Linked DNA regions of Homo sapiens: regions 1, 2, 4, 5 and 6 are each linked to region 3. Evidence: promoter capture Hi-C in 16 types of primary human blood cells and fetal thymus (Javierre and others, 2016). All regions are on one chromosome and are shown on one strand. Each heading gives the region's core, a stretch centred on a gene start or on the middle of the fragment in contact. The rest is flanking DNA. Distances are from core to core; before and after follow the strand shown.

Region 1 (2,700 bases), core at 25-2,524, 230 kb after region 3:
GTAGGAGCTAAAAAAGCTGATCTTATAGAAGTAGGGAGTGTAGGTGGGATGAATAACTTCTAGTGTTCTATAACACTATAGGCTGACTATAATTAACAATTTATTATAGATTTTCAAATTCCTAGAAAACCAGATTTTGAATGTTCCCAGGATAAAGAAATGAGAAATGTTTTGAGGTGCTGGATATGCCAATTATCCTGATTTGATCATTACACATTGTATACACGCTTTGAAATATTGTACTCTGCCCCATAAATACATACAATTATATGCCAGTTAAAAATAATAAAAGCTGGCCGAGTGCAGTGGCTCATGCCTGTAATCTAAGCAATTTGGGAGGCTGAGGTGGGAGTATCTCTTGAGCCCAGGAATTCAAGGCTGCAGGGCACCATGAGTCACCACTGCACTCCAGCCTGTGCAAGAGCGTCTCTAAAAATAAAAGTGAAAAAAGAATAGACACACCACAGACTCAGATAAAATGTTTGTAATATGTATTTGACCGAGGACACACATATAACCAGAATACATAAAAGAATTACTACAAATCATGATTTAAATGTAATAAATATTTGCAGGCTTAAATAGAGACATTCCACAAGAAGATATCCAAGTAGCCAATGTGCACATGAAAGAGTTTTCAGTATCACTGGTCATGAGTAAAATGCAATATTAAACCAATAAAATACCACTTTACACTCACTAGAATGGCTAAAATTAACAACAATACCGAGTGTTAGCAAGGATAAGGAACACCTGGAACTCTTAGACATTGCTGGTGGTAGTCTATTATAGTAAACCACTTTGAAGAACTGTTTGAGCAATTCCTCTCCTACGTATATACAAAAGAGAAATGATAACTTACGTCCACAAAAGTAGTGACTTCTACAAGTACATTCATAGCAGCTTTATTCATAATAGCCCAAAACTGAAAATAGACTGAATGTCCCTTAATAGGAAAATGGATATACACATTGCAGTATTTTCATATAGTGGAACACTATTTGGTAATGAAAAGAACCACTGACATGCAATGACCTGGATGAATCTCAATAGCATGCTGAATGGCAGAAGCTGGACCCAAAAGACTACACGGTATGATTCCACTGATAGGAAATCCAAATTTGAACAAAACTAGTCTGCGGTTATAGAAGTCAGATCATGATTGAGAGAGACTGTAACCAGAAAGGAGTACAGAGACTTTTTCCGTCGGGGGGAAATGTTCTATATCTTGTTTTGGATGGACATTACAAGGATGTATACAAATGTTGAGACTCAGTTGAGTGAGAAGGGGCCCACATCTGGTAATAGCCAAGTAGCTCCTACCAGACCATTCCATGCACATGTAATAACTATAAATAAAAAAATAGAAAACTTCCCATAAGCTGCTGGAGAGCCACAGAATCAGACAGATAATGGGAAGGTGGGTGACACTTAGATAGAGTAAAACAGTGAATTTTGTTTGTATGGCTTGTAGTCTGAGGGCAAACCATAGTCTGTACCATGCAGAGCAGCTAAAACTCAGAAATGTGCTGCTGTAACCATTCTGTCCAGCTTGCAGAACAAAATAGCAGAGGTTGGGTTGACCATTGCAGCTGGAAAGTGAGGGGATACTCACAGGAAGAAGAGAGTGAGCCTCAGATATTCTGCACACTGTGTCCAAACCTTCCTGTAGCTCCTAAACTACACATGTGTGTGTTAGACTTCCAGCAGTCCAGCTAAGGCTAAAAGAATTGAACTGAAATTTCAGCTGCCTTCAACTGCAGGCAAGCAATATGCAGTTTGAGTCTAGTAAACTTACCTGCCTATTAGCATGAATAATCAGTATTTTTCAGCAACATTATAGAATCCAACATTTTTGGAACATATGATATGTCCAGAATATGATCCCAAATTATTCAGTAAAGAGGCAAATATTACCCATGCTCAAGAGAAAAGGCAATCAATTGAGACTGACCCAGAGATGATGCAGACATTGGAATTAGCAAGCAAGGAATTTAAAGCAGCTCTTAATATTACGCTATAGGATGTAAAGGAAAGTGCTCATAATGAAGAAAGTGGTAAGAAGTACAGAAGAGAAGTCCAAACTAGAAAAAGCCAAATGGAAATTCTGTCACTGGAAAATTAAATACTTGAAATAGAAAATTCAGTGGATGGGCTTAATAGCAGATTGGAAGTTACAAAAGAGTTATTGATTTTCTTCTTTTTTTTTTTTGAGACAGAGTCTTACTCTGTTCCCTAGGTTGGAGTGCAGTGGCACTATCTCCACTCATTGCAACCTCCACCTCCTGGGTTCAAGCGATTCTCCTGCCTTAGCCTCTAGAGTAGCTGGGATTACAGGCGTGTGCCACCATGCCCGGCTAATTTTTGTATTTTTAGTGGAGACGGGGTTTCACCAGCCTTACCATTTGGCCAAGCTGGTCTCAAACTCCTGGCCTCAAGTCATCCGCCCGTCTTGGCCTCCCAAGTGCCGGGATTATAGATGTGAGCCACCGCACCTGGCCGAGTTACTGACTTTTAAAACAAAAACAAGTTATCTGGGGGAGAGAAAAATAAAATTGAAAATAGTGAATAACACCTTAGGGCAATATCAAAAGATCTAATGTACAAATAATTTTTAAAGTCCAAGGACAAGAGGAAAGAGGCCCCCCAAGGAAAATATTTAAATGAATAATAGCTGAAGTATTTTTATATTTGGTGAAA
Region 2 (2,700 bases), core at 4-2,503, 250 kb after region 3:
TATAGGAAAGGACCAAAATGGGGGCGGTCCAGATGCCCTCAAGGATATTGGGTAGCCATCAGTGACAGACTTGCATCTGGTGTTTCTGATGACCTTCCCTCATTCTCCCTGCCTGTCAATGGAAGCCACTCTCCTAGGGAGGACAGATTTCAGCTCTCTCCCTCGTTCCTGCCCCTCCCTTTCCCTTTCTCTCATGCAAATTCTAATCCCACTCTATCTGATTTAGCATCCCATTGCTTTCTATACAAGCACAGGTTTGACAGGGCCCAACAACGGGGCAGAGAAGCCTGAAAGGGCTGCCTCGTACATGCCAGGCATTGTTTGCATGCAAATGACGGCTAGGTTTTCCCTAGGGAATACCAATCAGATCTGCTTCTTGGTCCTAGTTCTTGAGTGTAGCTGGATCCAAAGCCATCGTCCTGAAAATTCTGGAGTGACTTAAATTCTACACTATGTGGCAAGCCCTCCTCTCCTCATCACAAGTCAGAGGTTCCTGACTTATTGTCTGGAAAGAGTTCTTCCCTTACCTGTGAGCTGGAAGGTGTTCCTTGGCAAAAGTGGTGGAGGATCCAAGATGAAGGACTCGGCAGAAAATCACACACACACACACACACACCCCACCACCACCACCAACAACAAAATACATAAAAAGTGATGGAGGAGAGATTCTGGCCACTAAAGATCAATATCCTTATATTGGCCACAGGGGGGTGATTAGGCTGGCCTGTCAGGTGGCCTTGCTCAGTGCAAGGGCCAGTGAGTCCTCCCACTCATCACTGACTTGGCAGGGGACAAGGCCCAGCCTATCTCCATAGACGTGCCTCTGCTGCCTGGACCCATGGCTGGGGCTCTTGAATGTTCACCATCTGGGACACCTGGATATCTGGCTGATGGTGTTGGAGTGGCAAATGGCAGAAACGACATCTGGCTAGCTTATATCCAAAGAAGGATTTATGAGGAGGATTCTCGGAATTCTCTCCAACTCCAGAAAACATTTAGGATCCTCTGGGATATGCAGGGTCTCCCCGGAGCACAGCGATGACCCTGACTGAGCGCCATTAGTCCAGTTAGATGGTGCCCCTCCCTGGCAGGGGTCGGGTAGTACTGGACCACTCTGGAGATGGCCATGGGCTGGCTACTGCAGCCACAAAGATGTCAGTGATCAAAAGAAGCATTTGATCAGCTGGCCAAGGCTCAGGCATCTGTGTTTGAAGGGGAAGGCGTCAAGGAGTCTGCAACAAGGTTGATGCAAATTCACACAAAACCAGGCACAAAACCTATTGTTGGTCCAGGCTTCCAGACTTGAATGCTACAGCTGGCGGTCACGGCCCAGCCTCGCCCTCCAGGGAACCAGGCAGGAGACATGTCCTAGTGTCATGGGCCTGGGGCCATGTTTCCATGGTGGGCACTGTGGCACTGAGACTGGACCCTGCTTCAGAGGGACAGGGACATCATTCCACCAACCCACTTCTCAAAGTTCTCAATTTGCATAGAAGGCTACTCTCAGGACCTCCCTTCTTCCCAAAAAGGGCAAAGGATGGCCCTGTGTTGTCCCACTGACAAGTGCTGAGAAGCAGCCAGCTTTTCTTTCTGTTTCTCACGACAGTTTGTGTTAGTCTATCCCTGGCATTCTGTGCACAGAGACCAGTGCTTAAAAGGAAAGGAAGGGGATGAAACAAGGGGTTTGGAAAGGAAGAAATATTTACATAGGAGTGATGGTCAAATATGTAATAACTACAATAATCTAAATATAAAATATATATTTTTTATTCTCTAAATAATATAAACACAGTTGACCCTTGAACAACATGGGTTTGAAGCGCTTGGGTCCGCTTATATTTTGATTTTTTTCAAAAGATGTAGTCGGCTCTTGGTATTTACTGATTCCCTATCTGCAAACAAATACAGGTGGAAGATGCAGTATTCTCAAGATGCAAAAACTCGCCTCGTCAGAGGGCAGAATTTTTATATAGGAGGGATCTGCAGGGCAAACTTCTGGACTTGGCCATGCACGGATTTTGGTATGGGGGGAGAGTCCTGGAACCAATTCCCCATGTATACTGAGGGACAACTATTTCTTATAAAACTGCTTGCCAAGTGATGTAAGTTGTAAAACAAACCATTCATCAGATCCCTCTGATCATTTCCAAATCACTCATTGGTTTTCATAAGCTGTTGGTGTGGTCTTTGTTTGACATGGGTGTCCCTAAGTTAGTACGTCCATTTCTGAGCCCACGATGGCATGGGGAGCTGTCCCAGACTTCCATTAAGCTGCTCCTTTTGTGATCTGGTATCAGAAGTCACACACCATCACTTCTGCCTTATTTTATCAGTTCATTAGTTAGATGAGTCACTAATTCCAGCCCACACTCAAGAGGAAGGGAATTAGGCTCCACTTTCTGAAAGGAGTACAAGATTTTGTGGGCATATTTTCCGCTACCACAGTCTGCCTGCTGGCCACAGATTATTTACACCCCTCACTGTATTAGTCTTCTATTTCTGCTCTAATAAATTACCACAAGCCTAGTGACCTAAAACAACACGAATTTATTATATTGCAGTTCTGGAGGTCCGAAGTCCAGTATGGGTCTCACAGCGCTAGAATCAGGTGTCAGTAGGACTGTGTTCCTGCTGGAGGGTCTAGGGGAGAATCTGTCTGCTTGACTTACAGCTTCTAAGAGGCACCCACATTCCTTGGCT
Region 3 (2,700 bases), core at 51-2,550:
CTCCACCCCTTTTCAGGGAGAGGGCACTCGCACGGGCGTCCCCTGCACCATGCCCGGGCCGTTACCTCGCTTGAATTCCTCCAGGACAGCGTCCAGCTTGGTGTCGTTGAAGACGAAGTGGAGCGGATGGTTGTAGAAACGAGTGATGGTGCTGAGCGGCGTGCAGTCTTCGGGATCCACGAAGGCCAAGTCCTTGAGGTAGAGCATGTCCACGATGTTGGAGCGCTCCTCCTCGTACACCGGGATGCGCGTGTGGCCGCTCTGCATGATGCTGGCCAGGACGCCGAAGTCCAGCACGGTGCTGGCGTCCAGCATGAAGCAGTCTTCGAGGGGCGTGAGCACGTCCTCCACGGTCCGGCAGCGCAGCACGCCCTTGCTGAGATCGCTGTAGGGGTCGCCGCCGCCGCGCGCCAGCTCCAGCACCCGCTCCCGCAGCCGCCCGGGCCGCGCCGCCAGCTCCAGCAGCTGCCCCACGGGCAGCGCGACGGGCAGAGTGAGCAGGACGGCCAGGCGGCTGAGGCCGAGCGCTCGCGGCGCCAGCGCCAGCGTCCAGCGCCCGCTCACGGCGGCCGGCACCACCTCTCCCACCAGGAACACGAGCCCCGCGCTGCCCAACACGGCGGGCACCGCACGCTGGCCGGCCGCGCGGTACAGCAGCACCGCCAGCGCCGCCTGCGCCAGGCTGGCCAGCAGCAGCAGCGCGCCCAAGGCGCAGCCGGCCCAGCGCCGCGCGGGCTCCAAACGCCGCGCCGCCGCACGCTCCGCCTCCGAGCCGCTCTCGCGCAGCACCTGCACCTCGGCAGGCGCCAGCGCCAGCGCGCTCAGCTGCAGGCCTCGCGCCAGCGCTGCCAGCGCCAGCAGCCCGGCCGCCCCCAGGCCCAGAGCCCAGGGCGGCGCCGCCTCCTCAGCCGCCCCGCCACCCGGCTCCACGCGCACCGCCAGCAGCGCCGAGTGCGGGCGCACGGCCTCGGCCCGCAGGCGCAAGCGCAGCAGCGCGCGCCACTCGCCCGCGGGGGAGGCCGCCTCCTCCCGGCAGCCCGCCCCCTCCGGGGCCACCCAGGACCAAGAGCTGTTGGCGAAGCCCGGGCCGAAGAGGCGCAGGAGGAAGGTGGCGTCCGGCGTGTCCCGCGCCGCCCCTCCGCGTACCCAACCCGCGCCCGCCGCTCCATCCTCCTCCAGGCAGAAGCCCAGCACTCGCGGGCCCGGCGCGGCCTCCCCCGCGGCGTTGCCCAGGCAGAGCGCGGCGAACAACCAGCCTAACCGACCCGCCGCAGCTACCGCCGCCGCCATCGCCTGCTGCCCCCTCTCGGCCTCTCGCGCAGCCTACCCCGCTCGCCCCGCGCCTCCCCGGGCCAATCGTTACGGCTCTTCGCGCCTCCTCGGCCAATAGGCGGTGGGCGGGGGCGGGCCCCAGGGTCGGACTAGGCTGCGCCGGGGAGTAAACAAGTGGCGGCCAGGGGCGGGCCGGGGGCGTGGGGCTCCGGGCCCCGCCGAGTCTGCTGCGGCTCCGGATGCGCGGGGTGGCAGTGGCCGGGAGGACGCGGGGCGGCGGGCAGGGCCTCCCAAGCCCGGCTGTCCTCGGCCCGTGCGCGGCGCCCGGAGTCCCACTCCTCCCGATGCTGTCCCCCGCGCCCGGAGGCCGAGCCAATTCTCTGGGAAGTTCCCGGCTTGGGAGCGGAGCGGCCGGTCGGAAGAACCTCGGGTGCTGGCGCGCCTGAAGTTGCAGACCAGACTGAAATGTGCGAGACATGTGCCTTTTTCTTAGGAAAGGCCCCAGGTACCAGAAAGGTTTTCAGCGCGCCGACCTACGGGGCTAAGAGGGCTGAAATAAGAACCAGTGACTGAGCGCCGGGAGGTTTAAGGTTTATGGAAGATGTTCATCGCGCCGTACCCTACTAGAGGTTTGGGGACGTGGGACACAGCCCCTGCGTTCCCGCCGCGGACCCCGTGATAAATACACAGACACACAAAATCACTACCGCCTTGAATCTGGACAGCTACCTCAGGTGGTTAATATCTAACAGGAGCAGAGTGGAGCTCAGAAAGACTCAGCGTGGGTGCTGGGTTCCGGCGCGACCAGCCTGATACCTAGGTCAGCATCTCAGCCACACAAGCAGGCGGCAGTTCTGTCAGGAATTACTACATCTGGTGATTCCACTTCTCATAGCTCACCGCTGGGAGAATAATTCCTCAGGATTAACAAGATCTATTCCAGAGGATCCTCACTGCTGAAGCGATTTTAGAAGACAGTGTGGTCTGTTGACAGTATGGAATATTCTTTACCCATCAGATATGATCTGTATGTGATTGGAAGGAAATAAACCAACTGCTAACAACACTTCTCTATAGATGTTCAGATTCAGTAATTTTTGTATTTTTCTCTACACTTTTGTTTTTTCAAATTTCCTAGCACAAGAAGACTTTGACTTACTGCACATGTCATTTTAAATGACCTTTATAAAGACTCTATAGAAACAATTTGCTATGTCATGAAAGTAACAATCAAAAAAAGTATGCACATTGTGGCCACAAAGTAAAACTTGTGTGGAAGGTAATGTGCAAAAAAAAAAAAAAATGAGTAAGCTGGTGGTGAGTGACCAAAGGAAAAGGCTTTGTAAAAAACTTTTTTTTTTTTTTTTGAGACGGAGTCTCGCTCTGTCACCCAGGCTGGAGTGCAGTGACGCAGTCTCGGCTCACTGC
Region 4 (2,700 bases), core at 118-2,617, 180 kb before region 3:
CCAGCTACTTGGGGTGGGGGTGTGGGGATGTCAAGAGTGGGGAGGCTGAAGTGGGAGGGTTCCTTGAGCCCAGGAGGTCTAGGTTGCAGTGAACTGTGATTATGCCACTGCACTGCAGCCTGGGCAACAAAGTAAGACCCTGCCTCAAAAAAAAAAAAAAAAAGGCTCGTAATCATTTCTTTTTTTTTTTCTTTTTTTTTCTTTTTCTTTTTTTGAGACAGAGTCTCGCCCTGTTGCCCAGTCTGGAGGGCAGTGACACGATCTCAGCTTACTGCAACATCTGCCTCCCGGTTTCAAGTCATTCTCCTGCCTCAGCCTCCGGAGTAGCTGGGATTACAGGCACCTGCCACCATGCCCAGCTAATTTTTGTATTTTTAGTAGAGACGGGGTTTCACCATGTTGGCCAGGCTGGCCTCGAACTCCTGACCTCAGGTGATCCACCTGCCTTGGCCTCCCAAAGTGCTGGGATTACAGGTGTGAGCCACCGCACCCAGCTTTCATTGTAACTATTTCTATTTATTTATTTATTTATTTATTGAGACAAAGTTTCGCTCTTATTGCCCAGGCTGGAGTGCAATGGGGTGATATCATCTCACTGCAACCTCCACCTCCTGGGTTCAAGCGATTCTCCTGCCTCAGCCTCCCCAGTAGCTGGAAGTGCAGGCATGCGCCCCCACGCCCAGCTAATTTTTTGTATTTTTAGTAGAGATGGGGTTTCTTCATGGTGGTCAGGCTGGTCTCAAACTCCCGAAGTCAGGTGATCCACCCGCCTCAGCCTCCCAAAGTGCTAGGATTACAGGGATGAGCCATTGCGTCTGGCCCATTGGAACTTTTCCTTTCTTTCCTTTCTTTCCTCTTTTTCCTCTCTTTCTCTCTTTCTTTCTTTCTGACGGAGTCTCCCTCTGTCTCCCAGGCTGGAGTGCGGTGGCGCCATCGGCTCACTGCAAGCTCCGCCTCCCGAGTTCACGCCGTTCTCCTGCCTCAGCCTCCTGAGTAGCTGGCACTATAGGCGCCCGCCACCACGCCCGGCTAATTTTTGTGTGTGTGTGTATTTTTTAGTAGAGACGGGGTTTCACCGTGTTAGCCAGGATGGTCTCAATCTCCTGACCTCGTGATCCACCCGCCTCGGCCTCCCAAAGTGCTGGGATTACAGGCGTGAGCCACCGTGCCCGGCCAGAGTTTCGCTCTTGTTGCCAGGCTGGAGTGCAATGGCGCGATCTCGGCTCACTGCAACCTCCACTTCCCAGGTTCAAGTGATTCTCCTGCCTCAGCCTCCCGAGTAGCTGGGATTACAAGCAGGCGCCACCACGCCCAGCTAATTTTTGTATTTTTAGTTACTAAAAATACAAAGGATGAAGAGCAGAAGGGAAATCCCCAAATTCAAGCAAGCACAGAAATCCATGATTGGAGACGGGGTTTCGCCATGTTGGCCAGGATGGTCTCAATCTCTTGACCTCGTGATCCGCCCGCCTCTGCCTCCCAAAGTGCTGGGATTACAGGCGTGAGCCACCGTGCCCAGCCCATTGTAACCATTTCTATATGTACGTTTAAAAATGTCCTTTGGAGACTTAGAACTTCCAAATTATTTATTTTTTTACATAAGGGCACTTAAATGAAAGGTGATTAAAAAGACATCTCTCCGGCCGGGTGCGGTGGCTCGGGCCTGTAATCCCAGCACTTTGGGAGACCGAGGTGGGCAGATCACGAGGTCAGGAGATCCAGACCATCCTGGCTAACACAGTGAAACCAGGTCTCTACTAGAAATACAAAAAAATTAGCCAGGCGTGGTGGTGGGCGCCTGTAGTCACAGCTGCTCAGGAGGCTGAGGTAGGAGAATGGCGTGAACCCAGGAGGCGGAGCTTGCAGTGAGCCGAGATCTCCCCACTGCACTCCAGCCTGGGCGACAGAGGGAGACTCTGTCTCAAAAAAAAAGTCTCTCCTACATTGCTGTCTGCAAAACATCAGATGTTACGGATGTTAGACTGCATCTCAATGGTAAATCTTCACTGACAGGTTTACTTACATCAATCATGAAAATTCTGTTTGTAGGCTGGGTACGGTGGCTCATGCCTGTAATCCCAACACTTTGGGAGGCCGAGGCAGGCTGATCATGAGGTCAGGAATTTGAGAACAGCCTGGCCAACATGGCAAAACCGCATCACTACTAAAATCACAAACATTAGCTGGGCATGGTGGTGAGCACTTGTAATCCCAGCTACTAGGGAAGCTGAGTCAGGAGAATTCCTTGAACCTGGGAGGTGGAGGTTGCAGTGAGTGGAGATGGCGCCACTGCACTCCAGCCTGGTCAACAGAGTGAGACTGTCTCAAAAAAAAAAAAAGAGAGAGAAAATTCTGTCAATACAGAAGTGAATTGTGGACGTAAAATGGTCATGCCATTTGGTTAATGGCACTAGGCAGCATTCATACAACAACTAATGACAAAAATTCACAGCTAGTGATATATAAAATAAAGTATTTTTGCAGTAAACAAACAAAATTGGCATGGCTTCCAGCTGAGCTCACCTTCACCCCACTCACCTTGTAAATGGGGTCATCCTCTGAGTTAACACAGTGGAATCCCCCTCCCGTCTCTCTCTCATGTCTGTCGGTTCTTCCCCAGCAATAGTCCCTGGAGTGGCCCCTATTAAGGGCCTTGACATCCACTCCCACACTCAATTTTACAACCACCTCCTTTGGGAC
Region 5 (2,700 bases), core at 16-2,515, 130 kb after region 3:
AGTTGGCCTAGGGCCACACAGAGCCAGGATTCATGTCTCAGGGGCTCTTGCGGGATGCGAAGGACTCTGGTGGTCATGGAAGGAGCCTTGCGTGTTGGTGGAGAGGGCAAAGGGCAGGTACAGTTGGGGCCAGGAAAGCCCAGAGTGTCCTTACTGTTGAGAGTATGGGCCAGAGAGAATGGATGCAGGAACAGGGGCCAGGGGCCAGGTGGCAAGGCGGCACCTTCTCCAGGAGGCAGTGGGGAGCCAGGGAGTCTCTGAAGGGGGAGGGAGTGGCCCCCACGTCCCCCCAGGGAGGATTAGAAGCAGGGAGGCCACTGTCACAGCCAGGGGTGGGGGTGGTGGTCAGGGTGTTTAGTCTTATTTATAGCTTGCATCTGATATGATGGGCTGGTACCAAACCTTATAGACATTAAATATTTTGGAGATCACCCCGTCACGGTCCAGGGAAGAGATGACAAGGGGCTGGACCAAATGGTGGCCATGAGGATGATAGAGGAGGTGGATTTGTTTTCTGTTTTTTTTTTTTTTTTTTTTTTTTGAGACGGAGTCTCGCTCTGTCACCCAGGCTGGAACAGTGTCACGATCTCAGCTCACTGCAACCTCCGTCTCCCAGGTTCAAGCGATTCTCCTGCCTCAGCCTCCCATGTAGCTAGGATTACAAGCATGCGCCACCATGCCCAGCTAATTTTTTTGTATTTTTAGTGGAGACGGGGTTTCACCAAGTTGGTCAGGCTGGGTCTCAAACTCCTGACCTCAGGTGATCCACCCGCCTCAGCCTCCCAAAGTGCTGGGATTACCTGTGAGCCACCGTGCCCAGCGAGGAGGTGGATTTGGGGAACATTTAGGAGGTACATGGACTTGGCATCACCCAACATGCTGACAGCCACAGACCCCTCTCTTCCTCTGGGGACTGTTTCAACCCCATTCCATGTGGTTAAGGGACCAGGAAAACAGGCCCCATAGGGGCTGCCCTGCGAGTTCAGGGGGCTCCCCTGGGGGCATTTCTCAGCCCTGTCCTCCCCTGAGGAGTCCCTGATTCCCACCTGTAGGAAGAGTGTCTGTATCTTCCCACAGAGCCTGCCGGAGTGCAGAGCCCCTGCCGGGGAGAAGAGGACGGAGTGGGCAGGCACCTGTGCATAGGCCACTCGCTGCTCCTTGGCCACCAGCCAAATCATCACGTCAGGGAGGCCCATCTGGGGCTGCCGAGGTGGGAGAATGTCAGGCCCTGCGCGGCTGGCTCCCAGCCCTGCTGCAGGCCAGTGTGTGCAGCACCCACCTCAGGGAGCACGGTGTTGAGGCGGTACAGCCAGTCCTCCGCTGTGGCCACCATGTCCTTGGGCTTGGCTTGCTTGGCCTTTTGGGCCAGTTCCTGCAGGAGGAGGCTGCGGAGCTGCCACCTCTTCCTGTCCAGGCTGGTGGCTTTGGGCTGATAGGTCATGCAGGGCAGAGGGCGCCTGTGGCCAGGACAGGGTAGCAGGGGCTGGACCTCTCTACTGCCTCCCAGTGTCACCATTCCTGCCCTGCCTTAGGCCAGCGTGCCCCTCCTGGCCTCAAGATCCTGCCCCCATCTGCTGCTAGCCTGGCCCAGGAGCCCTTCCCACTGCTCCATAGGAAGCCTGCTCGCTGTGTGTCCAGCCCTGGGTTCTCATCCAGTCCTCTCCCTTCCTCCCAGGGCCTGCAGGGAGGTGGGGCTATGTGGGCTTGTCTGGAGGAAGAGGACAGGCTGGCTTAAGAGGAGCCTCGGGTGTGGGTGTGGGGTAGCAGGGACCATTCTGATGGGGCGGTCAGGGGGCCTGAATGGGAAGGGAGAAGCGACTCTTGGGGTTTCCCGCTGGGGAGAGGTCTGAGCAGTGCTCCTCCCCGAGGAGGGCGGGGGGAGGTGTTCAGGGCACTGCGCTGAGTCCCCAGGCCCAGATCTGGCTCAGCTCCAGGCCAGCTGTATCCCGGAGTGCCCCTACTCCTACTTGCAGTCCTCTGCCAGCTCCCTCAGCAGTTTCTCCCACTGGTAGAGGAGAGCTGGATCCTTCGGATTCCGCGTGGATTTCAGGGTGTCCAGGTTGGCTTTCTGCCCAGCAGGAGAGAAATGGTGAGAGAGCCCGCCTCAGCATGGAGCCCAGCTGGACAGGCCACAGGGCTGATTGGCCCAAGATGTTTTCAGCCACGACCTTGGGAACTTTGAGGGATAACCTGGTGATATCAGTTCAAGGTTGTCCACAACTCCGAGGCTAGGAACCCCCCACATCCTTCCTGCTTCCCAACAGAAGAAACAGGTGGCAAGAAGCCGGGATGGGGTAAGACTGGGAAAGCAGTGCAGAGCCCTGACCTCCACATAGGCATGAGAAAGTCATGCCAGAGGTGCCAGCCCCAGGTGGCTCCCGAGAACTACACTCCCAACAGGCACTTGAGACAGTTTCTGATCTCACTCCTTCCAGCTTCTATGGTCTTATCTTCATGTCACCTCCATGCCTCCCCCAGATCCTGCCGAACTTCAGAAACCAGCACATTGCCGCGGCTTTGCAGGTTATTCCCTTCTACCCCCACCCAGCCCCCAACAAAATCCTATGCATTCTTCAAAACCCTGCTGATGTGTCATCTCCTTTGTGCACACCTCCTCTGACTATCCACTCTTCCTCTCCTCTCCCCATCTTCTCTCTCTGACCCTATAGCACCTGGTACCTGCATCTCCATCATAGCCCT
Region 6 (2,700 bases), core at 24-2,523, 190 kb after region 3:
CTCACCTGTTTACAGTGAATCAGACGTCCCAATAGATGTGGAGACGGTCACATCAACGCCTATGCCACTCTATGACAATCAGAAGGCACGCAGCGTGATGAATGAGTGTGAACGGCATGTCATCTTTGCCAGGACTGATGCAGATGCCCCTCCTCCACCAGAGGACTGGGAGGAGCATGTCAACAGGTAGGCTGCTCATCAGGAGGATGATCACTGCCCTGTAATTATTTTGTATCATCTTCATTGAAATAACACTTATTAGGACCTTATTTCATTTGCAGCAACACAAGTCAGAGTGTTCTCCAAAGTCTCACATTATAACTCTCAGTTCACCATGCTGTGTGTGAGCTCCTTGAGAGTAGGGCTTACATCTCAGCCATCTTTGCATACTTCACACTAGGACGTTGTCTGGCACACAGTAGGCATATAATGTTTGTTGAATAAATAAGTGAATTAAATTTGATACATATGACTAGCTCTGTAGTAGCTTCTGTTGTATAAGTTATGATATAGGGGTTACCCAAACTGCAAAAAAATGAAATGTACATTTGTAAGATATTGTGTTTAAATGGTTTATAACTAGGATGATGGAAGTTGTGAAGTCACATGAAAAGCTAACAGATGTTTGAGTGGCTTTTAAAAATAGATTTGCAGGCTATGGAGGGCACACTGAAGCCTATTTTCACGAGTATACTGGCTAGTTTTGTTCCCAAGCTTTCTACTGCCCCCAGGGGACTCAGCACTCCTCTCCTGGTTATTTGTCCCTGTTCATTTGGTAAACATTTACCTAATTACATAACAGCTTTTTGGGGATATTATTTACATACCATACAATTCAGCTATTTAATATGTACAGTCATTGGTTTTTAGTATAGTCAGAGTTGTATATTCATCACCACTATCAATTTGATAAACATTTTCATCATCCTAAAAAGAAACCTCTTACCCATAAACAGTTACTTCCCGTTTCCTCCCAGCTTCTCTGGTCCCTAGGAAGCACTAATTGACTTTTGTCTTTATAGATTTGCCTATTCTGGACATTTCATATAAATGGAATCATGCAATATGTGGTCTTTTCCTACTGGCTTCTTTCACCCAGCATGATGTTTTCAAGGTTTATCCATGTGGTTGCGTGTATCAGCACTTCATGCTTTTTATTGCCAAATGACATTACATTGTATGGATAGCCCACATTTTATTTATTCATTAATCAGTTGATAGATATTTAGATTGTTTTCATTTTTTGGCAATTGTGAATAATGCTATTATGAACATTTGCATACAAGTTTTTGTGTGGATCTAAGTTTTTAATTCTCTTAGTTATATACCTGGGAGTGGACTTGTTGGGTCATATGATAACTCTGTATTTAACCTTTGAGGAATTGCCAGACTGTTTTCCAAAGTGGCTGTACCATTTTACATTCCTACCAGCAGTGTATGAGAGTTCTAGTTTCTCCATATCCTTGCCAACACTTACTGATTTTCTTCTTTTTTAAAAAAATTATAACCATTCTACTGCGTGTAAAGTGGCATCTCATTGTGGTTTCAACTTATATTTTGTTGATGGCTTTTTGTCTGTGTATCCATATATCTACTATATATATAAGGAAATGTTACTTCTTATATCAGGAGTTGGTAGGTGGTAACTTTCCATAATTTTGGAGAACCCTTATTTTATAATAGAGAGAAAGAGGGGTAGAAAGTTTGAGGTGATTGACATGACTTCTGAAGCTGGTTGGAAGTTGGGAATGAGATTGAACAGGTGTGCTTGTGTGATCAAAACAGCAGCTGTTGAGGGAGGAGCAGTTCTGCACCTTGGTTGAAAAAGCTTGTGAAGAAGTTGGTTGGGGTCTTGCATTGGAATTAATTTAGTGCCTTAAGAAGCTCTTTTCTCACGCCTGTAATCCCAGTACTTTGGGAGGTTGAGGCGGGTGGATCACCTGAGGTCGGGAGTTCAAGACCAGCCTGACCAACATGGAGAAACTCTGTCTCTGCTAAAAATACAAAATTAGCTGGGTGTGGTGGCGCATGCCTGTAATCCCAGCTACTCGGGAGGCTGAGGCAGGAGAATCACTTGAACCTGGGAGGCGGAGGTTGTGGTGAGCCGAGATCGTGCCATTGCACTCCAGTCTGGGCACCAAGAGTGAAACACCATCTCAAAAAAAGAAAAAAAAGCTCTTTTGAGCTTCAGATAAAGAAGAAAACTGCTACGAATGAAGATCAACTACTGGAATATTGCTAGAGTCAGTATATTCAGCAAAAGGATTTATCACTATTTTTACAGTTAATAATAAAAAATAACGACGATGGTAATAACAAAAAGGAGCTACCGTTTGTTGAGTGCTTTCTAGGTGCCAGACATTGTATCAATGTCTCTTCAAATGCATTGTCTCTTAATCCTCCCAATGACTCTTGGAGGTATATCCCCCCTTCATCTCTGCTCAACAGGATGAAGAAACTGAGCTCAGGGTGTTTAAGAAACCTTAATTAGGAAGTGATGGAGAAGGATTTTGTTCAAACCAAGCAGCCTGACTCCAGAACCCAGTGTTCTCAACTACCATACCCTCTGCCTTAATTAAGGGCAGTAAGAAGAGATTAAGACCAGTTAGTGGTGGCTGAACAAGGTGGCCTGGTATGGTTATGTATCCCTTTGTGGTATTTTCTACTACCTTGTCCTTTGCAATTTCAGAAAGTACATAG

What was found. Contacts are between HindIII fragments. The CHiCAGO score rates a contact against its expected background, and 5 or more counts as called.
Region 1: a fragment that was not itself captured here is called in contact with the fragment with the promoter of CNNM3 in region 3 in 13 of 17 cell types (M1 macrophages, M2 macrophages, total CD8 T cells and 10 more); the score reaches 10.2 in M1 macrophages.
Region 2: a contact is called between a fragment that was not itself captured here and the fragment with the promoter of CNNM3 in region 3, in 17 of 17 cell types (M2 macrophages, M1 macrophages, neutrophils and 14 more). The highest score is 13.6, in M2 macrophages.
Region 4: a fragment that was not itself captured here is called in contact with the fragment with the promoter of CNNM3 in region 3 in 7 of 17 cell types (non-activated CD4 T cells, naive CD8 T cells, total CD4 T cells and 4 more); the score reaches 7.9 in non-activated CD4 T cells.
Region 5: a contact is called between a fragment that was not itself captured here and the fragment with the promoter of CNNM3 in region 3, in 1 of 17 cell types (neutrophils). The highest score is 5.6, in neutrophils.
Region 6: a fragment that was not itself captured here is called in contact with the fragment with the promoter of CNNM3 in region 3 in 17 of 17 cell types (naive CD4 T cells, total B cells, naive B cells and 14 more); the score reaches 9.9 in naive CD4 T cells.

The regions. Positions count from the first base shown.
Region 1 is chr2:96,581,910-96,584,609 of GRCh38, reverse strand. It overlaps a transcript of KANSL3 not described here. Among named protein-coding and RNA genes, the nearest start is that of ARID5A, 47 kb to the right of the region's middle. The HindIII fragment of the contact is 3,643 bases long and covers 1-2,700 here.
Region 2 is chr2:96,562,859-96,565,558 of GRCh38, reverse strand. No RefSeq gene overlaps it. Among named protein-coding and RNA genes, the nearest start is that of ARID5A, 27 kb to the right of the region's middle. RefSeq lists enhancers at 180-680, 751-1,251. The HindIII fragment of the contact is 4,621 bases long and covers 1-2,700 here.
Region 3 is chr2:96,814,868-96,817,567 of GRCh38, reverse strand. It overlaps CNNM3 (cyclin and CBS domain divalent metal cation transport mediator 3), which reads right to left and starts at 1,300. Exons shown (of 8, transcript NM_017623.5): 1 at 66-1,300. The coding sequence starts at 1,290. RefSeq lists silencers at 444-553, 564-703, 714-1,693 and an enhancer at 2,034-2,153. The HindIII fragment of the contact is 9,370 bases long and covers 1-2,700 here.
Region 4 is chr2:96,997,582-97,000,281 of GRCh38, reverse strand. No RefSeq gene overlaps it. Among named protein-coding and RNA genes, the nearest start is that of FAM178B, 12 kb to the right of the region's middle. The HindIII fragment of the contact is 4,040 bases long and covers 1-2,700 here.
Region 5 is chr2:96,684,697-96,687,396 of GRCh38, reverse strand. FER1L5 (fer-1 like family member 5) reads right to left here. Exons shown (of 53, transcript NM_001293083.2): 21 at 1,968-2,068; 22 at 1,280-1,457; 23 at 1,047-1,202. Among named protein-coding and RNA genes, the nearest start is that of FER1L5, 43 kb to the right of the region's middle. RefSeq lists an enhancer at 754-1,479. The HindIII fragment of the contact is 6,129 bases long and covers 1-2,700 here.
Region 6 is chr2:96,628,798-96,631,497 of GRCh38, reverse strand. KANSL3 (KAT8 regulatory NSL complex subunit 3) reads left to right here. Exons shown (of 21, transcript NM_001115016.3): 3 at 16-186. Among named protein-coding and RNA genes, the nearest start is that of KANSL3, 8.2 kb to the left of the region's middle. The HindIII fragment of the contact is 1,114 bases long and covers 717-1,830 here.